2 separate regions of the Homo sapiens genome follow, and region 1 is linked to region 2. Evidence: promoter capture Hi-C in 16 types of primary human blood cells and fetal thymus (Javierre and others, 2016). All regions are on one chromosome and are shown on one strand. Each heading gives the region's core, a stretch centred on a gene start or on the middle of the fragment in contact. The rest is flanking DNA. Distances are from core to core; before and after follow the strand shown.

The links. Contacts are between HindIII fragments. The CHiCAGO score rates a contact against its expected background, and 5 or more counts as called.
Region 1: a contact is called between a fragment that was not itself captured here and the fragment with the promoter of UBXN7-AS1 in region 2, in 1 of 17 cell types (megakaryocytes). The highest score is 5.0, in megakaryocytes.

What each region holds. Positions count from the first base shown.
Region 1 is chr3:196,298,990-196,305,246 of GRCh38, reverse strand. All of the region lies in intron 3 of DYNLT2B (dynein light chain Tctex-type 2B), which reads left to right. Among named protein-coding and RNA genes, the nearest start is that of PCYT1A, 14 kb to the right of the region's middle. The HindIII fragment of the contact is 1,502 bases long and covers 1,455-2,956 here.
Region 2 is chr3:196,428,490-196,434,658 of GRCh38, reverse strand. It overlaps UBXN7-AS1 (UBXN7 antisense RNA 1), which reads right to left and starts at 3,274. Exons shown (of 2, transcript NR_046745.1): 1 at 3,218-3,274; 2 at 1,625-2,457. UBXN7 (UBX domain protein 7) reads left to right here and starts at 2,232. Exons shown (of 11, transcript NM_015562.2): 1 at 2,232-2,332. The coding sequence starts at 2,260. RefSeq lists enhancers at 1,915-1,994, 1,927-2,700, 3,075-3,124, 2,701-3,475 and silencers at 2,035-2,284, 2,305-2,364. The HindIII fragment of the contact is 6,741 bases long and covers 1,968-6,169 here.

The DNA of each region.
Region 1 (6,257 bases), core at 956-3,455, 130 kb after region 2:
AAGGTTGATCATGGAGTTCAGATATTGTCAGATGGATCCATCTATTATAAAGTTTCCCATCAGGGCCGGGCGTGGTGGCTCACACCTGTAATCCCAGCACTTTGGGAAGCTGAGGCAGGAGGATCACTTGAGCCCAGGAGTTCCAGACCAGCCTGGGCAACACAGCAAAACTCTGTCTCTACAAAAAAATACAAAAATTAGCCGGGCATGGTGGCACACGCCTGTGGTCCCAGCTACTTGAGAGACTGAGGTGGGAGGACCTCTTGAGCCCAGGAAGGTTGAGACTGCAGTAAGCCGTGATTGTGCCACTGTACTCCAGCCTGGGTGACAGAGTGAGACCCTGCCTCAGATAGGTAGGTAGGTAGGTAGGTAGATAAGTGCTTACCTTGTCTTCTAGTTTCCATTGTTTCTGTTGAGAAGTCAGCTGTAAGTTTTATTATTCAATTTAAGATGGTATGTCCTCTCTAGCCACTATTACTTTCTTTGTATTTATTCTGCTTAGAGCACTCAGAGTCTCTTGAATCTATGGATTGATTTTTTTGTTGTTTTTTTTTTGAGATGGAGTTTCGCTTTTGTCTCCCAGGCTGTAGTGCAATGGTGCGATCTTGGCTCACTGCAAGCTCTGCCTCCCAGGTTCAAGAGATTCTCCTGCCTCAGCCTCCCGAGTAGCTGGGAGTATAGGTGCCAACACCATGCTCGGCCTTCTAAAGTCCTGGGATTACCAGTGTGAGCCACTGCACCCAGCCAGGTTGATTTTTTTTATCAGTTTGGGAAAATTCTTAGCCATTACCTTTGTTTAAAAAAAACAGTTTTTGGCCAGGTGCAGTGGCTCCCACCTGTAATCTCAGCCCTTTGGGGGACCGAGGTGGGTGGATCACTTGAGGTCAGGAGTTCGAGACCAGCCTGGCCAACCTGGCGAAACCCTGTCTCTACTAAAATTACAAAAAATTAGCCGGGCATGGTGGTGCACACCTGTAACCCCAGCCACTTGGAGGCTGAGGCAGGAGAATTGCTTGAACCTGGGAGGTGGAGGTTGCAGTGAGCTGAGATCACGCCACTGCACTCCAGCCTGGGGAACAGAGTGAAACTCTATCTCAAAAAATAAAAAAATAAAAAAACCAAGTTTTTATTTTAAAATAGTTTTAGATTTATAGAAAAGTTGCAGAGTTAGCGTATACTCCACACCCAGTTTCCCTGTTACTGTAAGAATAGTAATTATGCTATTGAGACAGTTCTTGCTCTGTCGCCCACGCTGGAGTGCAGTGGTGCAACCGTGGCTCACTGCAGCTTTGACCTCTTGGGCTTAACCAGTCCTCCTGCCTCGGCTTCCCAAAACACTGGGGTTACAGGCATCATCTACCGCACCCGGACTCCCTATGGTTAACATCTACATAGTATGGAACATTTATTATAATTAATGAAACAATATTGATACAGTGTTATCAAATAAAGCTTTGTTCTGATTTCTAGTTTGTTCCTAATGTCCTTTTTCTGCTTTAGGATTCTATCTAGGATACCACATTAAATGTCTCTTTGGGCTCTTCTTGGCGGTAACAGTTTCTCAGACTTTCTTGTTTTTCATCACCTTGACTTTTTTGAGGAGTACTGGTTAGGTGTTTTGTAGAATGTTCCTTCACTGGGATTTTTCTGCTAATGATTAGTCTGAGGTTACAGGTTTTTGGAAGGAAGATCACAGAGGTAAGACGCCATTCTCGTCATATCATATCAATGGTACATACTGTCAACATGACATGTTACTGTTCATATGAACTTTGCCTCCCTGCCTGAGCTAATGCTTCTCAGGTTTCTTTACTATAAACTTACTCTTTCTATAACTGCTCAGTGGGTTCACTTGCCCGCTGCCTAGACAGAGCCGATTCATCATGACAGGGGAATTGCCATAGAGAAAAAGTAATTCACGCACAGCCGGCTGTGCGGGAGACCGGAGTTTTATTATTACTCAAATCAGTCTCTCCCAGCATTCGGGGAGCAGAGTTTTTAAGGACAGCTTGGTGGGTGTGGAGAGCCAGTGAGCCGGGAGTGCTGATTGATCAGGGATGGAATCACAGGGAGTCAGCTGTCTTCTTGTGCTGAGTCAGTTCCTGGGTCGGGGCCACAAGATCAGATGAGCCAGTTTATCCATCTGGGTGGTGCCAGCTGATCCATCAAGTGCAGGGTCTGCAAAATATCTCAAGCGCTGATCTTAGGAGCAGTGTAGGGAGGGTCAGAATCTTGTAGCCTCCAGCTGCATGGCTCCTAAACCATCATTTCTAATCTTGTGACTAATGTTAGTCTAGTCCCCCGGCAAGAAGGAGGTCTGCTTTGGGAAAGGGCTGTTACCGTCTTTGTTTTAAACTATAAATTAAGTTTCCCCCCAAGTTAGTTCAGCCTACGCCCAGGAATGAACAAGGGCAGCTTGGAGGTTAGACGCAAGATGGAGTCGGTTAGGTTGGATCTCTTTCACTGTCTCAGTCATCATTTTGCAAAGGCGGTTTCATTTCCTCCGTGTTCATCCTGTACTCATTAGGAGGAAATCATCGTGTGCAGCCCACACTGAAAGAGCAGGGAGTTATGACCCACCTCCTCAAGGGCATCGTATCTGCGTAAATTCTTTGGAATTTTCAGCACAGGAAATTTGTCTCTCCTCTCCCATTTATTTATGTATTCTGTCATTTATTTCAACATGGACTCATGGATATTTTATACTTTGGATGATTATTCAATACTACTTTATTTATTTTGTAGTTCTAATTGTTCCAGCTTGGCCATTGAGAGCTTTCAGTGGATTCCTGTGTCCCACTGACTCTACTATTGTGGGTTTCTTTGAGCACTTCCTTACTTTCCAGCACTATCAGAAGCTCCACTGTGTTCATTCCCTACCCCAGCCCTACAATTCAGCCATTTCTCCAAGGAGCCCCTGTTCAATGTGTTGGAGAATGGCATTAGAAACTAAGCTTGGGGCCCTAGAGGTAGCCGTTCTCTTTTAAAACACTGCTGCTGCCCCTTCCACTCCGCTCTCTTTTTAGGATTTAGGTTACATGTATGTTTGGTCTTTTCTCAGTATTCCACATGTCTCTTATGCTTTTTTCTGATTTTTCTATTTCCTCTCTGTGCTTCAGTTTATATATTTTTTCTTTTTTCAGACGGAGTCTCGCTCTGTCACCCAGGCTGGAGTGCAGTGGTGTGATCTCGACTCATCGCAACCTTCACCTCCTGGGTTTAAGCGATTCTCGTGCTTCAGCCTCCCAAGTAGCAGAGACTACAGGCGTGAGCCACCGTGCCTGGCCAATTTGTATATTTTTCTATTGGCCTTTTAGGTCAATCATCCTCTTTTCTGTTGCATCTGATCTGCAGTTAAACCCATAACCTGAGTTCTTAATTTCAGTTATTGTATCTTTCAGTTTGGGAATTTACATTTAGTTTTTATAGATTTCAGTTATCTAGTAAAAGGCTTTATCCTTCAATCTTTTTTAACCCTCCCCACTCTATTTTTACATTTTAGTCATACTAATTATTTTATTTTATTTTATTTTTGAGACAGAGTCTCACTCTGTCACCCAGGCTGGAGTGCAGTGGCGCCATCTCTGCTCACTGCAGCCTCCACCTTCCAGGTTCAAGCAATTCTCCTGCCTCAGCCTCCCGAGTAATTGGGATTACTGGTGCCCACCACCACACCCGCCTAGTTTTTGTATTTTTAGTAGTGACAGGATTTCACCATGTTGACCAGGCTTATCTGGAACTCCTGATCTCAAGTGATCTGCCCCGCTCAGCCTCCCAGAGTGTTGGGATTACAGGCATGAGCCACTGCGCCCAGCCACAGTAGTTATTTTTATGTTGTTATATGCTTACTCTGGTATCTGGGTCATGTGTGAGTTTGTTTCCATTGTATTTTTCTTGATAATCATGTATATGGCTTTGTCTCTTGGCATGCCTAGTTTGAATCTTAGATATTGCTTAAAAGAATTATAGACCTCCAGATGATATTATTTTCTTCCAGAAAGGACTTAACTCTCTCTTCTGCTGTGCAGGAAGAGTATTGGCCGCTTAGCTTCAGGTACTGAGCTGAATTGAGGTTGGGTTACAGTTTTATCTTTTTAAAAAATTTTCTTTTCTTGTGCCAACTCATCTGAGAGTTGTGGTTTTAAAAAGGCCCTATCTTAAATTCATCCCTTTTTTTTTTCTTTTTTGAGACAGAGTCTCAACTCTGTTGCCCAGGCTGGAGTGCAGTGGTGCGATCTCAGCTCACTGCAACCTCTGGCTCCTGGGCTCAAGTGATCCTCCTGCTTCAGCCTCCCAAGTAGCTGGGACCGTAGGCATGAGCCACCACGCCCAACTAATTTTTGTATGTTTTTGTTGAGATGGGGTTTCACCATGTTGCCCAGGCTGGTCTTGAAGTCCTTGGCTCAAGTGATTCTCCTGCCTTGGCCTCCCCAAGTGCCCAAGTGCTAGGATTATAGGTGTGAGCCACCACACCCAGCCTCACCCTTGTTTCTATTTTTTTTTTTTTTTTTTTTTTGGAGACAGAGTTTCATTCTTGTTGCCCAGGCTGGAGTGCAATGGCATGATCTTGGCTCACCACAACCTCAGCCTCCCGGGTTCAAGTGATTCTCCTGCCTCAGCCTCCTGAGTAACCGGGATTAGAGACGCACGCCACCACGCCCGGCTAATTTCTGTATTTCAGTAGAGATGGGGTTTCACCATGTTGGCCAGGCTGGTCTCAAACTCCTGACCTCAGGTGATCCACCCACTTTGGCCTCCCAAACTGCTGGGATTATGGGCGTGAGCCACTGTGCCTGGCCCCCTTGTTTCTTAATTGTAGCCCTCCAAGTCTTTCAACCAAGAACCTCGAATGTTCATTAGGCCTCTGCAGGCCTCTACCTCCAACAGGTGCTGACTTTCAGATCTTGTCTCCTCAGCATAAAACTTTGCTCTTCATGTCAGAGGCTTTTTCCTTAGTGTACTAGTTTCCTGTTGCTGCCGTAACAAATTATCACAAACTCAGTGCTGAAAATGGCACAAATATATTACTTTACAGTTCTGGAGATCAGAAATCCAAAATGGGTTTCATTGAACTAAAATGAAGATGTCAGCAGGGCTGCATTCCTTCTGGAGGCTCTAAGACTGAATCCATTTCCTCGTCTGTTCCAGTTAGAGGCCCCTGAACTCCTTAGCCCATAAGCCGTTTCCTCCAATTTCAAAGCCAGCAGCACAGCATCTTCAACTCTCTGACTCTGACCCACCTACTCCCTCTTTCTTTTGTAAGGACCCTTGTGATTTAGTCATACTAGTTACTTTATTTTATTTTATTCTATTTTTGAGAAAGAGTCTCACTCTGTTGCCCAGGCTGGAGTGCAGTGGTGCCATCTCGGCTCACTGCAAGCTCCGCCTCCTGGGTTCACGCCATTCTCCTGCCTCAGCCTCCCGAGTAGCTGGGACTACAGGCGCCCGCCACCACACCCGGCTAATTTTTTGTATTTTTAGTAGAGACGGGGTTTCACCACGTTAGCCAGGATGGTCTCGATCTCCTGACCTCGTGATCCGCCTGCCTCAGCCTCCCAAAGTGCTGGGATTACAGGCGCGAGCCACTGTGCCCGGCCTGAATTCAGCATGTCTTGAAAAGAAAACCTACCATGTGATACGCTCAGTTCTACTTTCTCCTTTTTTATGGGATCTTCCCTCCAGAATCTGATTTTACCTCCTTAGCTTTGTTAAGACTGCCGACTCTGCTGGGCACAGTGGCTCACTCCTGTAATCCTACCACTTTCGAAGGCCAAGGCGGGCAGATTGCCTGAGCTCAGGAGTTGGAGACCAACCTGGGCAATATGGTGAAACCCCGTCTCTACCAAAAATACAAAAAATTAGGGCCAAGCACAGTGGCTCATGCCTGTAATCCCAGCACTTTGGGAGGCCGAGGCCGGTGGATCACTTGAGGTCAAGAATTCGAGACCAGCCTGCCCAACATGGTGAAACCCCGTCTCTACTAAAAATACAAAAATTAGCCGGGCGTGGTGGTGGGTGCCTGTAGTCCCAGCTACTTGGGAGGCTGAGGTAGGATAATTGCTTCAACCCGGGAGGTTGTGGTTGCAGTGAGCCAAGATTGTGCCACTGCACTCCAGCCTGGGCAACAGAGTGAAACTCCATCTCAAAAAAAAAAAAGAAAAAAAAAAATTAGCCAGGCATGGTGGTGCATGCCTGTTATCCCAGCTACTCGGGAGGCTGAGACATGAGAAGTGCTTGGCCTGGGGAGGCAGAGGTTG
Region 2 (6,169 bases), core at 2,025-4,524:
TTTTGGAAATAAACCTGATAAACCTGCAGAGCTCATTACTGGCCTCTCCATCTGATGGAGGTACAGTAATCACTGTGTTTAGTTTTTGTAGTTAATGGTGTTATACCATTTTACGTGGAGCTTGATTTTGCATGGCTGGCTAGTGACTCAGCCTTTAGGATGAAGGGAGACAGAGGTAACACTTTCTTGATTTGGCTTTCTTCCCTTGCCTGTTTTTGCACCTCTGCATCAAATGTGAAGGAATCAGCTGCCGAAATTTATGACTGATCCCTGCCCTTCCTCAGCCCATCTAGAGAACTGCAGCAACCTGGAAGGCAGTGCCAGGACCAATCTGTCATTTAACTTAAAATACATTTTTTTTTTTGAGACGGAGTCTTGCTCTGTCACCCAGGCTGGAGCACAGTGGCATGATCTCGGCTCACTGCAACCTCTGCCTCCCGGGTTCAAGTGATTCTCCTGCCTCAGCCTCCCAAGTAGCTGGGATTACAGGTGCCCGCGCCACCACAGCAGCTAATTTTTGTATTTTTAGTAGAGATGGGGTTTCGCCATGTTGACCAGGCTGGTCTGGAACTCCTGACCTCGGGCGATCCGCCCGCCTCGGCCTCCCAAAGTGCTGGGATTACTGGAGTCTGCTTTCTTTTACATCAATCATATCTTCTTGAAACTACAGCCCGACTGGGTGTGGTGGCTCACGCCTGTAATCCCAACACTTTGGGAGGCCGAGGCGGGTGGATCACTTGAGGTCAGTAGTTTGAGACTAGCCTGCTCAACATGGTGAAACCTCGTCTCTATTAAAAATACAAAAATTAGCCAGGCGTGGTGGCGTGTGCCTGTAATCCCAGCTACTTGGGAGGCTGAGGCAGGAGAATCGCTTGAACCCGGGAGGCGGAGCTTTCAGTAAACTGAGATTGCACCACTGCACTCCAGCCTGGGCGACAGAGCGAGACTCCCTGTCAAACAAAACAAAACAAAAAACTATACCCCTTGATTTGACATGGCTCTTTCTTAATTCTCCCCAATAGCATGTTTACTCTTAGGATGTGTCAATTCTTCAGACAGCTCATCCCATCTTTTATTGGGCCATTTTCCTATGAAGATGCAAAATATGTGGGTGGAGGTTGGAAGGTGGGAGGCTAAAACAAACGGAATCACTTGGAATCTCTTTTAACTTTATGGGCAAGGTGGGGGATTATTGGATTTGAGCGCACCCCACTCATGTAACTGTTTTGCAAAATACTTAAAATTATTCAAGGAACACACGAATATCTTTTTTTTTTTTTTTTTTTTGAGATGGATTCTTGATATATTTCCCAGTCTGGTCTCGAACTCCTTGCCTCAAGCGATTCTCCCACCTCGGCCTTCCAAAGTGCTGGGATTACAGTCATGAGCCACCGCGCCCGGCCAATAATGTTTGTTTAAAAATAAAAAGATAAATAAGAAACTCGAAGTAAGGTCCGCTTTGACCATCGTCCCGATCGTTCTCTTCTCTGGAGGTAACCGTTACCAGCGTTTTGAGCACACTTTTCCAGTCTCCTTTCTATATGTTTTCTTTCCTCTACTGCATATACAGAGTTTCTTTTTATACAAATGACGCCTCTTGGGGTCTCATTAAGACCCTAACGGGAGACGTGATGGCCAATTTATTTAAGGAAAGCAGACTAAACAATCGTTTATGAAAACCTACTGGGTGGCAACCCCGCGCTAAGTGCTTTCTTTGGCATGAAGGGTTCTGGTATTTCACTCGTCGCAATCGGTTAGCTAAGCCATTAGTTTAGAGGCTGGGGGGCGAGTACGGGGAGAGTCGCTTCAAAGCGAGGAGGTAGGGTTTGCATTTTGATGGGACCTGCAGGAAACCTAATAGAGTGCGGTACAACCGCAAAACAGAAAAATGCTGTCATCGGCAGTTGGCTCTGTCAATAAAGCTTGCGAAGCTGAAATGCGAAGAACTATCTGCCGAGACCGAAGCTTCCTTCGGAATCTAGGAATCGACACCGCGCCTGCGAGGCTAGCCTTGGAGCCCGGAGAGGAAGGCACCAGCAATGGCAAAAAGGATGCACTGAGCAGGCAGCAACCGAGCAGCCAACCCGAGAGCTGGGAGCGCGCGGGCCCGGTCGGAAAATGCGCCTGCGCAGACCGCTGGGGACGGGAGGGGCGGGGCTCGAGGGGCGGTCAATGCGCCTGCGCACACCGCACGGCGAAGTGGGGGAGGGCAGTCCGTGTGTGTCTGTGTTGTTGTTCGGCGGCGGCGGCGGCGGTAAGATGGCTGCCCACGGGGGCTCCGCGGCGTCCTCGGCGCTGAAGGGGTTAATTCAACAGTTCACCACCATTACCGGTAAGAGACGCGGTTACCGGAAGGTGGAGAGTGGGGTCCGGAGCGGGCAGCGGGTCTGCCCCGGGCTTCCCCTTACCTTCAGGCATTCCTCCTTCGGGCTTTACCCACAGCTGCCGTCCTCCCTCCTGAGGAAGAGGCGACGACGGCGTCGGGGTCTCCGGGTTCAGGCGGGAGACAGCCCCCCCCCGCTCCCGATACCCTCGTTCTCTGTCTCCTAGTAGCGTGGAGGGAGATCCCCCAACCCCCCGCCAGCCCAGACCTGGGAATGGGCCGAGTCCGTCCGCCCCCGCCGGCCCGGGGACCCGGGGGCGGGAGGAGTAGGGGGCCGCACCCGGGCCACCGCCCTCCTCCTCCTCCTTCATCATCTTCCCTTCTCTGTGCAGCCCTGCGGTGCGGTGCATCTCCTCACCTCCTTTTTTCCTTTCTTCCCCGGCCAGGTCATTCTGCCCCGGTCCCCGGCCTGCCCTTCCCCTTTCTGGGCCCCTCGGAGCCATCGCCGTGGCCCTGGCGGGTTCGGGCCCTCCCGCCTTCACGGCAAGGCCGGTGGGTTCGGCCGTGCCTTTACACTTCACGGGGGACAGGCCGCCAGAAGCGGGGGGTGCTGAGGAGGACCTCAGGGACTGAGGCTTTGAGGGAAGAATGAGGGGGAACCCCCAAGCTGAATAGGGGAGGCCTGGAAGAATCCAGGGTGGCGTTTCCCACCTCCCCATAATAAAATCATAAAGACGGAGACGATGGCGCCGGGGCCTCCTGCTGATAAGATAGGGATGGCGGCAGAAACTTCTTTGAGAGAAAATCTGTTTCTGGGTGTCGGTATCCCCGAAACCCTAGGCCTAGGTTCTCTCCCTTTGGACCCCTGCGAAGGACACACGCAGATCCTCTTACCGCCTGGAGGAAAGGCCCTAAAGCCATTCTATGAATTCTCTCTGTCTTGTTTCTCTCTGATGGTGCTGAACTTTTCTTGCATGAGTTATTAGAGGGCGGAGCAAATGATGAAGTTCTCTGTGGAGTGATTTGAGAGAAGAGTACTCCAATGTGCCTGAGTGTAATTTTGCCGTTCTAGTTTGTCGTTTTGGAAGGAGGTCAGAATGTTAGTTCCCTCTCAACGGATCTATACTTTATCTCGTAATTTGTTAGATGCGGAGAATGTTTCCACTGTTAATGTTCCTAGAGTTTAACGTGCAATATCTGGTTAAGTAAAATTTTATATTGTTTTAACTACTACAGGTTGTATACTAGTTACCGTTTTATATTAAAGCAAGTTTTATTTTTTTGCTTTGCAATGATAACGAGATATTTGACGCATTGTTATCTAGCTTGTGGGCATGGAACATCAGGTCAAAGTAAAGTAAAATTTGCAATAAAATTGGGGTGAGGAGTTGCATGATAACTTCTCTTAATATTTTTGAACTTTGTGATTGGATTATTGAAGATATAAAGGATTGGATTATTATATTAAATATGTAAAGGATTTCCTAATGTCTGACAAATCATTGCTATGGAGAAGATTATTGTGTATATAAGTTAGTGTTGCTGCATTATGCTTATATAGAAAAATCTTTGCAGTGAATCTGATAGAGAAGTGAATATCATTATTAATCCTTTAGATTTCCTAGAGATGGTTTATGATGCCACTTGGGCCTGGCGCGGTGTCTCACGCCTGTAATCCTAGCAGTTTGGGAGACGGAGGCTGGAGATTCACATGGGGCGAGGAGTTGCAGACCAGCCTGGGCAAAACATAGTGAGGCCCCATCTCTACAGAAATAAGAAAATGAGCTGGATGTAGTGGCACCGACATGTAGTCCCAGCTACTGGGGAGGCTGAGGTGGGAGGATTGCTTGAGCCTAGGAGTTCAAGGCTGCGGTGAGTAGATCATACCACTGCGCTCCATCCCTGGCAACAGAGCAAGATCATTTCTCAAAAAGAAAAAAAAAGCCACTTATTATTATTATTATTATTATTATTTTGAGACAGTCTCGCTGTGTTGCCCAGGTTGGAGTGCAGATCTCCCAGGCACGATCTTGGCTCACTGCAACCTCCACCTCCCGGGTTCAAGCGATTCTCCTGTCTCAGCCTCCCGAGTAGCTGGGACTACAAGCGCCTGTCACCAGGCCCGGCTAATTTTTGTATTTTTAGTAGAGGCGGGGTTTCATCATGTTGGCCTGGCTGGTCTTGAACTCCTGTCCTCAAATGATCCACTCACCTCAGCCTCCCAAAGTGCTAGGATTACAGGCGTGAGCCACCGCGCCTGGCCCTAAAAGCCACTTAATTAATTTTCAGTTTCTTATGCTAATTACTACTCTTCCCAAACTCTGATTGGTTTAACGCCACATTACTTCTTCTGTTGCAACATTTTTATTAGGTACACACAAAAACCGAAGTGTGGTGAGTTGAATTGACTCACTTAATTGCTTTAATTCTGTTTCTGTTCGTCTACGTAGCTTGATTGCTGGATCAAGTTGGAGTCCCTCAATCAGTAGACAGTGGTATCTGGAGATCTACAGAGCGAAAATACCTTTGAGTGTTCTTCAAATATTGTGAATTTCTATTGATAATTTTTGGGATTCTTTTTACAAGATAGTGATTAACCGTTAGAAACACATGATTGATTTCTTTTTGCCTTTTTTACATGTCTTAAAATTTTTTTGGGGTTCTCTCCACATACGTTTTAATCGTAGTGTTTATAATTAAAAGGTATTTTATATTTATTTTAGTGACCTTAATAGCTTATGCTCTGATTTCACAAAGGTTTTACTTGGAAGCTCAATATTCTTGTAAAAACAAATGCATCATCAAAAATGTGAGTCCTTACTTTTTAGGCAGGAGCAAAAAAAAGAAAAAGAAAAAATAAAAATAAATGTGAGTCTTATCTTTTTTTGGCATTTAGAAATAGAACGGAAAATTGAAAGATTTTAGAAAAGTCTTATTTCTTACTGAATAGAACAGATCTCTCTCTGATTCAGTGAGTATGAAATAATGACTGATGTTTTTTTTTTTTTTGAGACGGAGTCTCGCTCTGTCACCCAGGCTGGAGTGCAGTGGCGTGATGTTGGCTCACTGCAAGCTCTGCCTCCCAGGTTCACACCATTCTCGTGCCTCAGCCTCCCAAGTAGCTGGGACCACAGGCGCCTGCCACCACGCCTGGCTAATTTTTTGTATTTTTAGTAGAGACGGGGTTTCACCGTGTTATCTGGGATGGTCTCGATCTCCTGACCTCGTGATCCGCCTGCCTCGGCCTCCCAAAGTGCTGGGATTACACGTGTGAGCCACCGCGCCTGGCCTAATGACGGATTTTTGATTTTTTTTTTTTTTTTTTAAGAGATGGAGGTCTCCTCTCTTTGTTGCCCAAGCTGTTCTCCAGTTTCTGGGCTCAGCCATCCTCTTGCCTCAGCCCTCCCAGTAACTGGGGCTACAGGTGCACATCACTGTGCCTGGTTCAGTAATGGCTGATTAAAAAAGATTATTAAAAAGACAATATCATAAAAACTTTTTTTTTTTTTTTTGAGACGGACTGGGTCTCACACTGCCACCCAGACTAGAGTGCAGTGGTGTGATCACGGCTCACTGCAGCCTCTAGGGTAACTTTCTTTATTTTTTGTGGAGATGGGGTCTCACTTTGTTGTGCAGGCTGGTCTTGAACTCCTGGGCTCAAGCAATCCACCCACCTTGGCCTCCCAAAGTGCTGGGATTACAGGCGTGGGACACTGCACCTGGCCGAAATAATTTTGATAAAAGGGAAAAGAACTAATTCTCCTTCTCACAACAGCAATATTTATTTTACATATTATCTTCCACTTCTTGTTTATATGCTTATTTTTACATTGTGGATCATAGTAT